Regions from separate parts of the Homo sapiens genome. Here all the other regions are linked to region 3. The links are contacts of gene promoters, found by promoter capture Hi-C in blood cells and fetal thymus (Javierre and others, 2016). All regions are on one chromosome and are shown on one strand. The core of a region is centred on a gene start or on the middle of the fragment in contact, and the rest is flanking DNA. Distances in the headings are between cores, read along the strand shown. Region 1 overlaps SDC3 (syndecan 3). Region 2 has its middle 42 kb from the start of LINC01778. Region 3 holds the start of MATN1 (matrilin 1). Region 4 overlaps PUM1 (pumilio RNA binding family member 1).

Region 1 (3,146 bases), core at 217-2,716, 180 kb after region 3:
GCATTGTGCTCACTCCTCCCCAGAGAGCAGGAGGCTTCAGGTTCAAATCCCAGCCCTGCCTTGAGGATAGAGTCACAGCCCCCAGTAGTGATTCTAAAAGCCAAGTATTTGTTGCCCCCAGTTGACAGGTAAGAAAGCTGAGGGTCAGGGCAGGTTACAGCCTGCTACTGTCATGTGATGACCACTTTCATTGCTTAGCTCAAAACCCTCCTCCTCCAGGAAGCCTTCCCTGACCCCATCCATGCTCCCTCCCAGAAAGGTCCCATCTCCTGAGAGCTCACTACGTGGCAGGTGTGCTCGGTCTACTCAAGCAGCTCATTTCCAAGTCACAACATCCCTGTGAGGCTGACACCATTACTGTCCGCATTTTATAGACAAGGACTTTGAGACAGAAAGAAATCCCTCACTGGAAATCACACAGCAGGTGTCTGTCCCCAGAGCCCCTGGTACCTTGGGAGCTAACAGGCAGCATACAGCTGTGGTGTCCCTGTGCCTGTCCCCCAAATGCTGGAAGGGGAGATGGTTCACCCAAGAGCCTGGCCCAGAACAGCCCAGGGGCCCCCAACTTTCCATTTTTTTGGTGAGGACTATCTCATCCTGGAAACCCAAGGCTCACAGTCACCCAGGGGAGCCTGGAGGGGAGAAGAGCAGGGATGCTTGAAACAGGGTGAGGAAGGAACGGAAACCACCAGGCCTGGGGCTGAGCTTCAAAAGAATTCCCTACTAATTCCCCCACCCCACCCCACCCCCACCCCCACCCCCATCCGTACTCTCTCTCTCTCACAAACACACACACACACACACACACACACACACACGTCTCCCACCCTTCCACTCCCCACCCCTCCTGCCTTCCCAACCACAGTACAGCAACTTTGTAAAAGAACAAGAAATCCATATTTGTTGAGCCCTTAGTAGGTGCCAGCCACTGGGCTAAAAGCTTTCCAAATTAAGCCCTTCCATTCTCGCATTGTCTCCATTTTAAAGAGGTGGAAACTAAGGCACAGAGAGGTTAGGTAACTTTCACAAGGTCACACAGCCACAAGGTAGTGGTCTCCCATCACTGGGAGTATTCAAACAAGACTAACACCTAAGATCCCTTCCAGCCCTGGACTTTTGAAAGAACATGTTTCAAAAGCTAAAATGTTCAGGATCCTCACACTCCAAAACTTTGAGTGGTGACTTAAGTACAGTAGCTGAGGTGGCCTTAAAGGCAGATGTCCCTCAGAGTCCTGGTAACTTGGTCTGTCAGAAGAGGGACTCCTCAAAGGAGATGCCAGGAGACAGACACAGACACACAAACACACACACACACACACACTGCAATTCACCATCTGCAGTGTGAATGAGGCCTGCTCTCCCTGCTATCCCCATGCTGAAAGACACGAAGACACACACACACACACACACACACACACAAAGGCTGGCAGGTGACCCAAGGGTCATCATGTCCCTGCCCTTCCCTGCCCTGTGCCAGCCACCGCTCATCTACCAAGGCCACCCCTGGAGCTTCCCTGGCTGGGGCTCTTCTGATCTAACCTCAGTCCCTCCTGCTGCAGGCACTGCCCTCTCCCTCTGGTGCGGAACCCCGGCAACCAGGTACCACCCATTAACCCTTTTCCTCCCAAGTCAGATGAGGACAAGAGGGATGATGCCCCTCCTTGACAGCTTGACCCATGGGAAGATGTGAGGCCTGGAGGACACTCCACTTCCCACCACCTCACCAGGCGCCCCAGTACCTGCCCTCCCCCAGGCCCCACCCACCATTTCAGCCTCTGGGCTCAGACTCCCAGGGTCTGCTTGATCTGCCACCCAACACTGGGTCTGAGCCACACCTCTCAGATTCAGGTCACCCGTGTTGCGAGGCCCTACTGTGCATGAGGCTATTAAATGCTCTCACTAAGTCCTTCCACCACCTCGTGGAGTATGAATTATTAGCCTTATTCAGCAAGGAAAGTGGCCTGCCCAGCGCTCCACCTGGCCTCCAAGTCTAAAGCTTTCTGTCCTGAGCCCCTTTCATTCATGTGCACACCACATGACTCCTGAGCTCCTTCTCAGGACACTCGTCAGTCATCCCATTGAATTTTTGCCCTCTGAGGAAGGGGTCATTAGCCCCATTTCACAGAGGGACAACCAAGGGTCAGAGAAGTAAGAGGACCTGCCCAAACCATGCCACGAATCGGCGGGGGTAGCAGGATTGGAACCCAGGGTTGTGTGATTCCCAAGCCTTTGATTTTAAGGATGGTCTTTCAGAAATTTGGCTGAGAAGGCGACCCCAGCTGCTAGGGTGTGCTGGGTCTCTATCCCTCCCAGGGACCTCTTCCTCTCACCCCACTTAGGGGAGAGCTGGGAATGAGACATCCTGGCCAGCAGGCACTTCACACAGGTCAGCCCTCAACACTTCCCCTCCCTCCAGCTGACAGCCCCCTAGATGGGGAAGGCTGAGGAGGGGCCTGTCCATCCAAGAAGCAAGCTTGGAGCCCCTGCCTGTCCTCCTCCTGTCTTACTGACTGGCCCACTGAGGCTGGGAAAGGGAAGGAACTTGCAGAGGGCGGCTGGGCACCCAGTGTTGCTTGAGAGGCCTGGGTCCTTTTCAGCCTGGGGGATGCAGGACAGCATAGCTCCTGGAACCAACCTGGGAGGCTGGACCTAGAAATCCCCAGCCCGCCTGAGCCAGAACCTGGACACTTGTCCAACAAGAACTCATCTGGGGCCTGGATCCCTCAAAGGGGGATGAGGTCCTTCCTTTCTCTGCCATCCCTGACGGAGCTGGGACCAAGCATGGCTGCTACGGTCACTCAAAGGGACACTCAAGGGTCACCTCATACATACCATCACCTCCACCTGCACATGCTTGGTTCCCCTCAGGGGTCCTCGTCCTATGTCCAGGGTCCCCCATGCACCTGCATGCACACGCTGCTATGTGCACTCACACACATTCATGGGTCCAAGCACACGCCCACCAGAGGTCTTTCACACACACACCCTCACCCACTGCAGCCACACACGGCCATAGCCAACAGTGGCCCAGCCAGGCACAGGCACACATCATGCACAATGGGTCACCCTCCCACGACCACGGACGGGAGGGCACGCTGGCATCCACCCATGTGGCAGACACATCCTTCACCTGCACACGCCCCACA
Region 2 (3,120 bases), core at 119-2,618, 140 kb after region 3:
GGAAGTGGATGACGTAGAGCCGAGGAAAATAGGGCATTGCGGGAGTTCACAGGCAGGGGTTGGGCGAGTGGCCAGGGCCCTAGACTTGCAGCAGGGGAGCCAGCTCTGCATTTCCTGGGGGTGCAACCTCAGGCCCCTCTGGGAATTGCTTTCTTTTACTTTTTTTTATTATTTTATTTTATTTTATTTTATTTTTTTTTTTGAGATGGAGACTCGCTGTGTCGCCCAGGCTGGAGTGCAGTGGCACAACCTCAGCTCACTGCAACCTCTGCCTCCCAGGTTCACGCCATTCTCCTGCCTCAGCCTCCAGAGTAGCAGAGACTACAGGTGCCCGCCACCTTGCCTGGCTAATTTTTTTGTATTTTTAGTAGAGACTGGGTTTCACTGTGTTAGCCAGGATGGTCTTGATCTCCTGACCTCGTGATCTGCCTGCCTCAGCCTCCCAAAGTGCTGGGATTACAGGCGTGAGCCACTGCACCCGGCCGCTTTCTTTTCTTTTAAAGCACTTTATTATGGAGAATTTAAAATGTAAACTTAGAGTAGATAGAATAATATAATGAAGCCCCTATGTGCCCATCACTCAGCGTCTATAACGATCAACTCAAGCCCCAACTTATTTCCTCCATTCCCTCACCCACTCCTCCCCATATTATTTTGAAGTCAATTCCAGACACCCTGTCACTTCATCTACAAATATTTCAGTCTGTATCTCTAAAAGGTAAGGATTCATTTAAAAAAAAAAAAAAAACCATAACTACAGGGCCCTTATCACATCTAAGAGCATTGACAATGAATCCTTAATAACAAATATTCACTCGGTCACTTGAGCCCAGGAGTTTGAGACCAGCCTGGACAACATGGCAAAACTATGTCTCTACAAAAAATATGAAAATTAGTCGGATATGGTGGCGAGCACCTGTAGTCCCAGCTATTTGGGAGACTGAGGTAAGAGGATCACCTGAGCCCGGGGAGCTCGAGGCTGCCGTGAGCCATGATCAGACCACTGCACTCCAGCCTGGGCGACAGAATGAGACCCTGTCTCAAAAAAAGAGAAAATATATATATAAAAATATATATATTTATGTTTTTACTCATTCACTCAGAGTTCAATTTCCACTTGCCTCATAACTGGAGCATTTTAAAAATATAATTTGTTCGAATCAGGATCTGAATCAGGTTCCCACATTGATTAGTTAACATTTCATTTAAGCTTATCTATAAATTCTCCATCTCTCTCTTTTTTTTGTCTTCCTTATAATTTATGTGTTGAAAAAAAACTGGATTGTTTTTCCTATAGAGTATCCCACAGTGTGGATTTTGCTGATAAGGCCAATGTGTTTATTGTAAACACATTGTTTATGATAAAATGGGGGTAATAATTGTCTCCAAGAATTAAATAAGATAATGTCTATGAATGAACGACGATAATTGGAAGGCATCCCACAAAGGTTGTGTGTTAATGCTTCGTTAGAGGCTTTCAAACTCCTAGTGCTCCTGTTGTTCTGGTGATATAACTGAGGTTCAGAGAAGCTTAGTAACCTGCCCACCCTCACAGCTAGCTCTTGGTAGGGAGGAGACAGCAGAATCCCACCGCACCTTCCAATTGCTCTAGGGCTTTGGGATTCTGCTGTTTGAGCCTCAGTTGCTCCATTTGCAACAACAGGCCAAGAGACCAGACCTGGGGCTTAAATGAGCTAACATGATACCTGGTACCTGGCATAGTGCCTCACCCTATTCCTCTTGCTGTCTGCCCTCTCTCATCCCTACTGGTTATCTGGTGGTGATAAACCTAGATCCTCGTGCTCTGAGCCCACCCTCAGGCCGGCAGAGGCAGGGTGGGCGGCCCTGGAAGCTGAGCACACTCTGTTCTCAGGGAAGCTTGGGCTGGGTGGCTGTGACCTCTTGGGCTGCAGGAAACAATCAGCTATTCTTCCTCCTTCCCTCTTGATTCTGTTGCTCATATCTTGGGTGAGGGGGCCCAGAGGGAAGTGCTCCAACTTCCAGCAGTGCCCAGCCTATCTGTGCCCAAATACATGGTTTCCAGGCTCTGCCCTTGGCTCTAACAAGCCTAAGTCATAGTTCATACTAGAGCTGACCCTGATAGTTTGATTTCTACCCAAGCTCAGTATCACTTGTTCAATCAATAGGCAGTGTGCTGGGCCCTGCAAATAAGAATAACAGTAATAACAATACAACAACAGCAGTAATAATTGCCCACATTTGTACAGCACCTACTCTATGCCTGCCATAGTTCTAAGCACTATGCATATGAGGCCAGTACTAGTATTGCCCCCATTTTACAAGTGAGGAAACTGAGCACTGAGTTTGAATTGTTCACCCAAGGTCACATAGCTAGTCACTGACAGAGCTAGGATTTGAATAAAGGTTTGCCTGGTAAAACGTAGGTGCTGCAAAGAGAAGAATAGAAATCCAGCTACAGATGGGCATGTATGCCATGCTTCATGCCTCCAAATACCAACCTTATTGTCCTCATTTGCCTTCAAGGAAATCGAGGCTCAGAGAGGTAGAGCAAAGAGTCTGCTTGACTTCAAGACCATGCTCTTTCTACTCCTCCAAGCTGAAAATAAAATCACATCACTAGAACTCAAGAGAGAAGGGGAGAAGGGTAGGAGGGAGACGGCGGGCTGACAGCACTCAGAAGATGGGGCATTGCCTTCTGAAGCTTCCTGAGTGAACAGCCACTCATGCTTGGCTTTGAATCTTGGTAAACCAACCCCTCACATCATAGCAGGTGTCTAACTGGCCCACTCCTGTGAGGACCTCCCAGTGGCAGGTCTGGCCCCTTCACCCCATTTTATAGCTGTGCAGACTGAGGCTCCAAGGAGTCAAACTGTCTGAGGTCCCACAGTGAGGCCCCGGGCACCAGGGCTCTGTCCCTGAACTGCCTAGCAGTGAGGGGCAATCTTGGTGGGGCTTGGAGGTGGCAGCTGAGAAAGAATGACCCCCCCCCTCCCACAACCACCGCCACCACCACAGACCAGTGTCATCACACAGTCACAAGACTCTGGTTATCAGCTATCTCCCGGATAGACTGTACATGCTCTAGGGAGAGGGGTCGGGGCTGTTGTGGGGACCCCTCGGCTCCCAGTTCCAAGCACA
Region 3 (3,079 bases), core at 61-2,560:
TTTCATCTGAGCATCAAAGCAAATCACCAAAGTGGAACCAGTTTCCCTCAGCCTGGCAGCGCCTGCTGGCGGGTTGCCAAAGACAGGGAAAAGGAGCAGGAATTCCTGGTGGCCACCTCGGCAGCCTGATCAGGTGCACACCAAGACACACCCCCGAGGAGCAATGTCCTCCAGAGACCCAAGAAGGCAGCACCCTGTGCTGGGAAGTATGCAGGGTCAGAGTGAGTTCAGGCCTGGGTTCAAATCCTGGCTCAGCCACTCTGTGGGGCCCTGGGCAGATCATTGCACCTTTCTGAGCCTCCGTGATCTCACATGTCCAGTGGAGAGAATAAGGCTACTGTCACTGGCCTGGGCCTGCAGTCAGGAAGGTCTCACTACAAAGGCCCTTCCCTCCCCATCCCATGCGGAGTCTGAACTGAGCAGAGCCAATCCCAAAGAGGAAAGGGGAAACGTGCAGGGCCGTCCCAACCCCCAAGTCACAGTAACTCACAGTGCCCTAGACTGGGGCTCTGGACATCAGAGTTCCTCAGGAGACCTTAGAAATCACCATGCAGCAGGCTCCCTGCTGTCTACTCGCTAAGGCTACAAATGGGTAAACTGAGACCCAAAGAGGGAAAGGGAATTGGCCACACCGTACAGCAGTAGATCAATAACCTAGAGGCTCTGGCGCTATCTCACTGTGTGGTCTTAGGCCCTCACTGACCTCAGTTTCCCCATCTGTACAGGAAGAATGGGCATTCCAGGACTCAGTGCCCAAACCTGAAACTCTGGGGGGTGTTATTGCCCCCAGGGAGCCCAAGGCTGGAAGGACCTGCAAAGGGGGCATGAGCTCTTGGCATCCCAGGTCTGCTGTCATCAAAGAGCCATGGGCTCAGCCCTGGGCTTGGTGCAGCTCCAGACGTCAGCCAGCTCTCTGAGTAGCTTCTGCTCCCCAGAGACCTGGAAGACCAAGGTCCCTGCCTCATGCATGGTCCCTGAGGGCTGAGGAGCACCCCTGCCCTGACCCTTATAAGCACCATGGTCCCTGTCTGCTCCTGCACCAGCCCACTGCCCACCACTGCCGCCCTGCTCCCTTCCCCATCCTGGATCCCGTGTGCTCCCTGCCATATCGGTACCCAGCCCCCAGTGCTGAGGGTCAGGGCCCACTAGCTCAGTAGCCCCCATCTCACGCAAGCCCCCTCACCTCTGGACTGGGGGGCGAGGCCAGGGCTGCACAGGGCCTGGAGCAGCAGCAGCAGGCTGCAGAGCATGAGGCTAGTGCCAGAGAGGACCCTCATAGTTCTGGCAGCACGGGCAGCAGCCGGCACGGTTGTGGGACCAGTGGGGTCCAGGTCTTATCAACCCCACTGCCCGCCCAGCCTTTGGGTCAGGTGGCCCCCAACTGACGACTGACGTGGGGGCAGCCCGCCCTGGCCCCCAGCCCCCCCAAAGGGCGGGGCTTGGGCTGAATGGAGGTGTGTGTGCCCTGAGAGGGCGGGAGAGCCTGGCCCAGGCTTCAGAGGCCCCTCTGACCACAAGGGCTCCTTTGCTTGCAGAAGCAACTAGAGCGGCAGCTGGAATTTGGGAAATCTCAGGTGGGTGGGGGGTGGCTCTTCCAGGGGCTGGAGCCCGCGCTGCCTTGAAGCTCCACCCCAAGCCTAGGCATACCTGAGTCCAATGGCCCGGCCCAGCCCTGTCCTGCACCTTCATCCCACACCCAAATCCTTCCCCCACTCACAACCCCAAGTTTCTCATTAAATTCACTTCCCCTTCCCCAGCCTCACTGTGCCCTGCTCTCCGCACACGCCCTGCTCTCCAGCTACCCCTGGATTCTCCTCGAAGGCCTCCAGGCCATCACACATGCAGGGCCATCTGCCCAGAATCCTTTCCTCTCACTAACTCTCTGCCTTGTAGAATCTTTCAAGGTCATAATTAGGGCTAACATGTACCTTCACTGTTAGTATGGGCAGGGCAGTGGAGACCATGGTTAAGAGCACAGACTTGGGAGCCAGGTTACCTGGGTTTGCTATACCAGCAAACCACCTGTGTGACCATGGGCAAGTGACTTCACCTCTCATGTCTCAGATTGCTCATCTGGAAACTAGGGATGGTAATAGCGCCTCCTAGGGTTGATTCAAGGAGCAAAGGAGTTAGATGAGGTTTCTCAGTTAATCCTCTTGACAACTTTTTAAAGCAGCTACTGTTAAAGAACAGAGAGGTAAAATAACTTGTCTGAAGTTACACAGCTAAGAAGTGTTATTGCCAGGATAGAGCCCCAGGCCCGGCTCTCAGCCATGCTGCTGTCTCAGTGTAGCTTGATGTAGGTGGCTTCTCCCTGCCCATCTCTTCCCCCTGTGGGTCCCTGCTTGGCCCACCTCACCTGTCAGCCAGTGGATTCAACTCTGCATCAGGCCCAGCACAGAGAAGGCAAAGATAAAGCCTTCTAAACAAAGTAACATCAGCAGGAACGATCCCCTTCTTTGCATTTGGGTCAAGTAGTTCATGAGATAGAGCAGAAAGAGCATGGGCTTGGCTACCTGAGAGATCCAGGTTCAAAGCCACTTCTGCTCCTAACTGGCTGTGTGACCTGGAGCTGGTGACTTAACCTCTCTGAGCCTCAGCTTGCCATGGTGCAGTGGGAATGGTCGTTCTTGATCTGCCTGCCCCATGTGAGGGGCAAGAGGGGGACAGAAGTGGAAATGGAGTTAAAGGATTGTCATTGCTCCAGGAGGCAGAATCCTAAGACTTGGGACCTATGCACTTCACTCTGTGTAAATTATACCTCAATAAAAGGAAATGTACAGACAAAAAGCGACTGCTGGGTGCAGCAGACCCAACTCACCGCTACCACACTCTTTAGCAATAATTATAACAATCCCTTCCACCCTTGACATGGCAGTTACTCATTCTATCACTCTATCTCATTTGCTCACCCAACAAACCTGTGAAGTCAGCAGATTTGAGTCTCTTGGCCCATTTGTCAGATGGAGAAACTGAGGCCCAGAGAGGTTCACTGACTTACCCGAAGCCACCAGCCAGTTTAGGGGCAGAGCCAAGCCTAAAGCTCAGGCCTCACTCCCCTTTGCACCAGTGTTAGAGA
Region 4 (3,214 bases), core at 518-3,017, 240 kb after region 3:
ATTATTCATAGCACCCCCTTCCACTCACAAAAGTGTTCTGGTTTGCATGATACATTATATGGTGACTCTACATCTAGCATTCAATTTTCCCCATCTAGCAAATAAATCAGTACTTTAAACTTAATACATAACTGCGGGAGAGGAGTATGCACCATGCTTGAGATAAGAAAACATCTCCCATGTCCTGAAAGATTTAGAGATTTGCCACCAAAAAAAAGGTAATATAATTTTCTTTTCATTCTTATAGCCTGCTGCTTGGGATCCTCTTTTTCTCTCCCTATTTTCTAGAATCTAGATGGTAATATTTTAAAATCCCATGCATAAAACAATCTAAATATTTAATAGGGAAATATACATCTCCTCATTAACATACTATATGGTTTGAGAGTTTATATTTACAAATATTTTAAAATATGGCAAAATTTTAAAAATAAAATGCTTTTTGTGAAAAAGCAAGATATTATATGTACATATAGCAGAGGGGAAATTTTGAAAGGAAATAAGGCAAAATATTAATTGTGGTGGTATTTCAGGTGGTGATACTAGGTGATTAAATTCTGTCTCTGTGTTTCCTAGCTTCACTGAAATGAACCTGTGTTTATATTGTTTACATTGAAATACTCTCACAGGTAGCCAAAGAATAAAATGTTCATACTAAAGCTAACTGAATATACAGGGAATGTACCCAAACTATAATAAAGCCAAAACTGCTATACTATCTATAGGTACAGCCTGAATAACATGAGGTATTTACGGAAGGCACAGAACACCCAGGACACTTCTAGTATAAAGGGACTGTCCTTTGCTTATGCAAAGTTCTTGTAATGTCATCGGTGGCAAGAGAGTTCTAGAGTTCAAGGTGGTGTTAGAGTAATGGTTCTTACCCAGGTTTAAGCTTGAAGAGGATCCATGTGAAGAGAGGGAAGGAGGTGGTGTCTGTGAATGTCCTGGTCCCTGACTAGGGAGAGGCATGCCCACGGGTCCAGGAGAGGAGGAAAAGCTAAGGCCGTTATAAAAACTGTGTCCAATGGGGGTCAAGCTGCTCGATGTCCTCTTATAAAGGTCACTGCTGCCAGTCAGGGAGTCACGGCGGGAGCCACTGCCAGTGTTGGAGTTTGCAACTAAAATGGAATTAAAACAATGCAGATAAGAACAGGCCTGTTCTTCGAAGAACAAGCCCAGTGACCTGTTCCTAACACTTTGATCCAGACTCCTTACCACCGCAAATTTGTCAGCAGAGACAGCCTAACTGTTAATGTAGCAGTACTAGGGGCAGATAAGTAATAAAGAGGACATGGCTCAGGTTAACATGACCATCAAACATATGCCAAATTTACCTTCCTATGGTGTCGTATATTATAGGATAAGGGAGGGTTAAAAAGCTCTGACGGCCACATGAACTATGGAAAAGGTGGAAGAAAATGGACTAGAAGAATGCCTTTCATCAATTGAAAAGGTTCAAGTAGAAAAATGGGATACAGAAAAAAGATTTGTAAATGGGGTACTGCCCCACTACACAAGACTTCTATATGAAAGCCTGTTTTCTCAGTGGGTTCAATCGAGAGTTAATGCTGCCCTCAATTCCAATTAAGATACTTTCTTTCACACATGCCCTTCTATTTAGGGATCACTTTTGTTTGTTTGTTTTTTATAATCTCTGCAATTATCCCATTATTCACCATACTACACTCCTGCTTTTTTCATCAAAACATTAAAAATATCTTGGTCTAATATCCTTCCTCCTAATTTTCCACATGTCTACCTTAAATTCTACTCAAAAGACTGAAGAAAACTTGTAACTCTTTAAGGCCTGCAGGCCAAGAACTCGGCTCAGTCTCAATTGTGGAGTATTTCAGCTCTGCTATCTTTAGTAAGTCCTCCTCCCTCAGTTTTTGATATCAATTTCTACAGTTCCCTCAATATTTTTCCCAAATACAGCAAAAATCTTCCCTAGATTTCAAATCCCTGAAAGAAACTGATTAAGTAAGTAGCCACATGAGCATGGATTGAAATAGGTCCCATCTGTATAACTTGATTTCAATAGTCTATCATCTCACAGATTATGTGGGATGGCTGGATTCCCACAAGGCTTGGTCCAGATCTGCCTGTGGTTCCATGCATTGCCAGTATTCCAGAAGGATTGTAAAAATAATTAAAATTCAGTCTTAAGAGCATATCAGTCTAATTTCTACCTGCTGTTCCAAACCCTCCAAGGGCGGATCCCAGGGTGGCGCCGAGAGAACTGCTACTTCCGAATCCCAAGGATGTGTTGGCAGGCTGGGCAGAGCCCTGGGAGAAGAGGGAGCTGCTCTGTGAATTGCTGTTCAGAGAGTTGTTGCCGTAGAAAGAACTGGATGCCAGGTTGTTATTGGGCTGCTGCTGGGGCTGGGGCTGAGGCTGCTGTGTTCCTAAAGGGCGAAATGGTCCATTTGTTGTTCCAGCAAGACCACCAGCTGCTCCATTTGCTGAAGCTGCGGCTGCTGCAACAGCTATGAAGAAGAAAGCAAACCGTTTGGCTATGAAAGGGACTGGCCACATTTCCAAACTACATTTTTATCTTTTTTCAAAAAATCTTTTAATGCTGCCTATCTTTTCAAAACAGACACAAACCATACAAATCTGTCTTTGATCCCTTCATATGAAGCTTCTATTTTCTGTTTCTACTTTCAATTTGAACTCAAAATACCACTAGAACAAGTTCACTATGCTGGTTGCTTTTAAGAGTATACAGATTAAAAGGGGTATAAACATCAAATGTATCCATTAAATACAACTACTTCCTAAAATCTTAAATTCCATAAATATCTATGTTGAGGGTTTCTTCTAGAACCATGTAATGCACATACACATCCTTCAAATTCCTATTTTAGCACACTGCTGTCTTCTAGATGTTCCTGTTATTGTTCTTAATTAAAAAATAAATAAATATAAACACTTAAAGTAAAAAACTATTACTCCTCCCAACCAAATGTATTATTTTGTCACTTCTCACTACTCTTTCCCACGTCCTCCACTCCTGCCCCTGTGGCAAAAAACAACCCCTCCTCTAAAATTATCTTAAAATAATGACTTGGATTTCTGCCAACAAAGCCATTTTGTGTGAGTAATGCAACTTCTATGTTCTCAGTGGAGCCAGACCTTCAGACCTTGCTTCTAACCAGCTGGCACATGCCACCCCTCCCCCAACCCACCAACCCCCCAACAAAAAGGAGAA

The links. The method cuts DNA at HindIII sites, captures the fragments that hold promoters and counts their contacts. A CHiCAGO score of 5 or more calls a contact.
Region 1: a contact is called between a fragment that was not itself captured here and the fragment with the promoter of MATN1 in region 3, in 13 of 17 cell types (megakaryocytes, monocytes, naive B cells and 10 more). The highest score is 11.1, in megakaryocytes.
Region 2: a contact is called between a fragment that was not itself captured here and the fragment with the promoter of MATN1 in region 3, in 1 of 17 cell types (monocytes). The highest score is 5.3, in monocytes.
Region 4: a contact is called between a fragment that was not itself captured here and the fragment with the promoter of MATN1 in region 3, in 2 of 17 cell types (total B cells and monocytes). The highest score is 5.9, in total B cells.

What each region holds. Positions count from the first base shown.
Region 1 is chr1:30,904,571-30,907,716 of GRCh38, forward strand. All of the region lies in intron 1 of SDC3 (syndecan 3), which reads right to left. Among named protein-coding and RNA genes, the nearest start is that of SDC3, 2.6 kb to the right of the region's middle. The HindIII fragment of the contact is 1,056 bases long and covers 939-1,994 here.
Region 2 is chr1:30,864,928-30,868,047 of GRCh38, forward strand. No RefSeq gene overlaps it. Among named protein-coding and RNA genes, the nearest start is that of LINC01778, 42 kb to the left of the region's middle. The HindIII fragment of the contact is 320 bases long and covers 1,209-1,528 here.
Region 3 is chr1:30,722,275-30,725,353 of GRCh38, forward strand. MATN1 (matrilin 1) reads right to left here and starts at 1,311. Exons shown (of 8, transcript NM_002379.3): 1 at 1,184-1,311. The coding sequence starts at 1,277. The region is part of intron 2 of MATN1-AS1 (MATN1 antisense RNA 1); the gene reads left to right. The HindIII fragment of the contact is 11,974 bases long and covers 1-3,079 here.
Region 4 is chr1:30,963,790-30,967,003 of GRCh38, forward strand. It overlaps PUM1 (pumilio RNA binding family member 1), which reads right to left. Exons shown (of 22, transcript NM_001020658.2): 13 at 2,193-2,489; 14 at 885-1,121. Among named protein-coding and RNA genes, the nearest start is that of SNORD103C, 2.8 kb to the right of the region's middle. The HindIII fragment of the contact is 1,749 bases long and covers 894-2,642 here.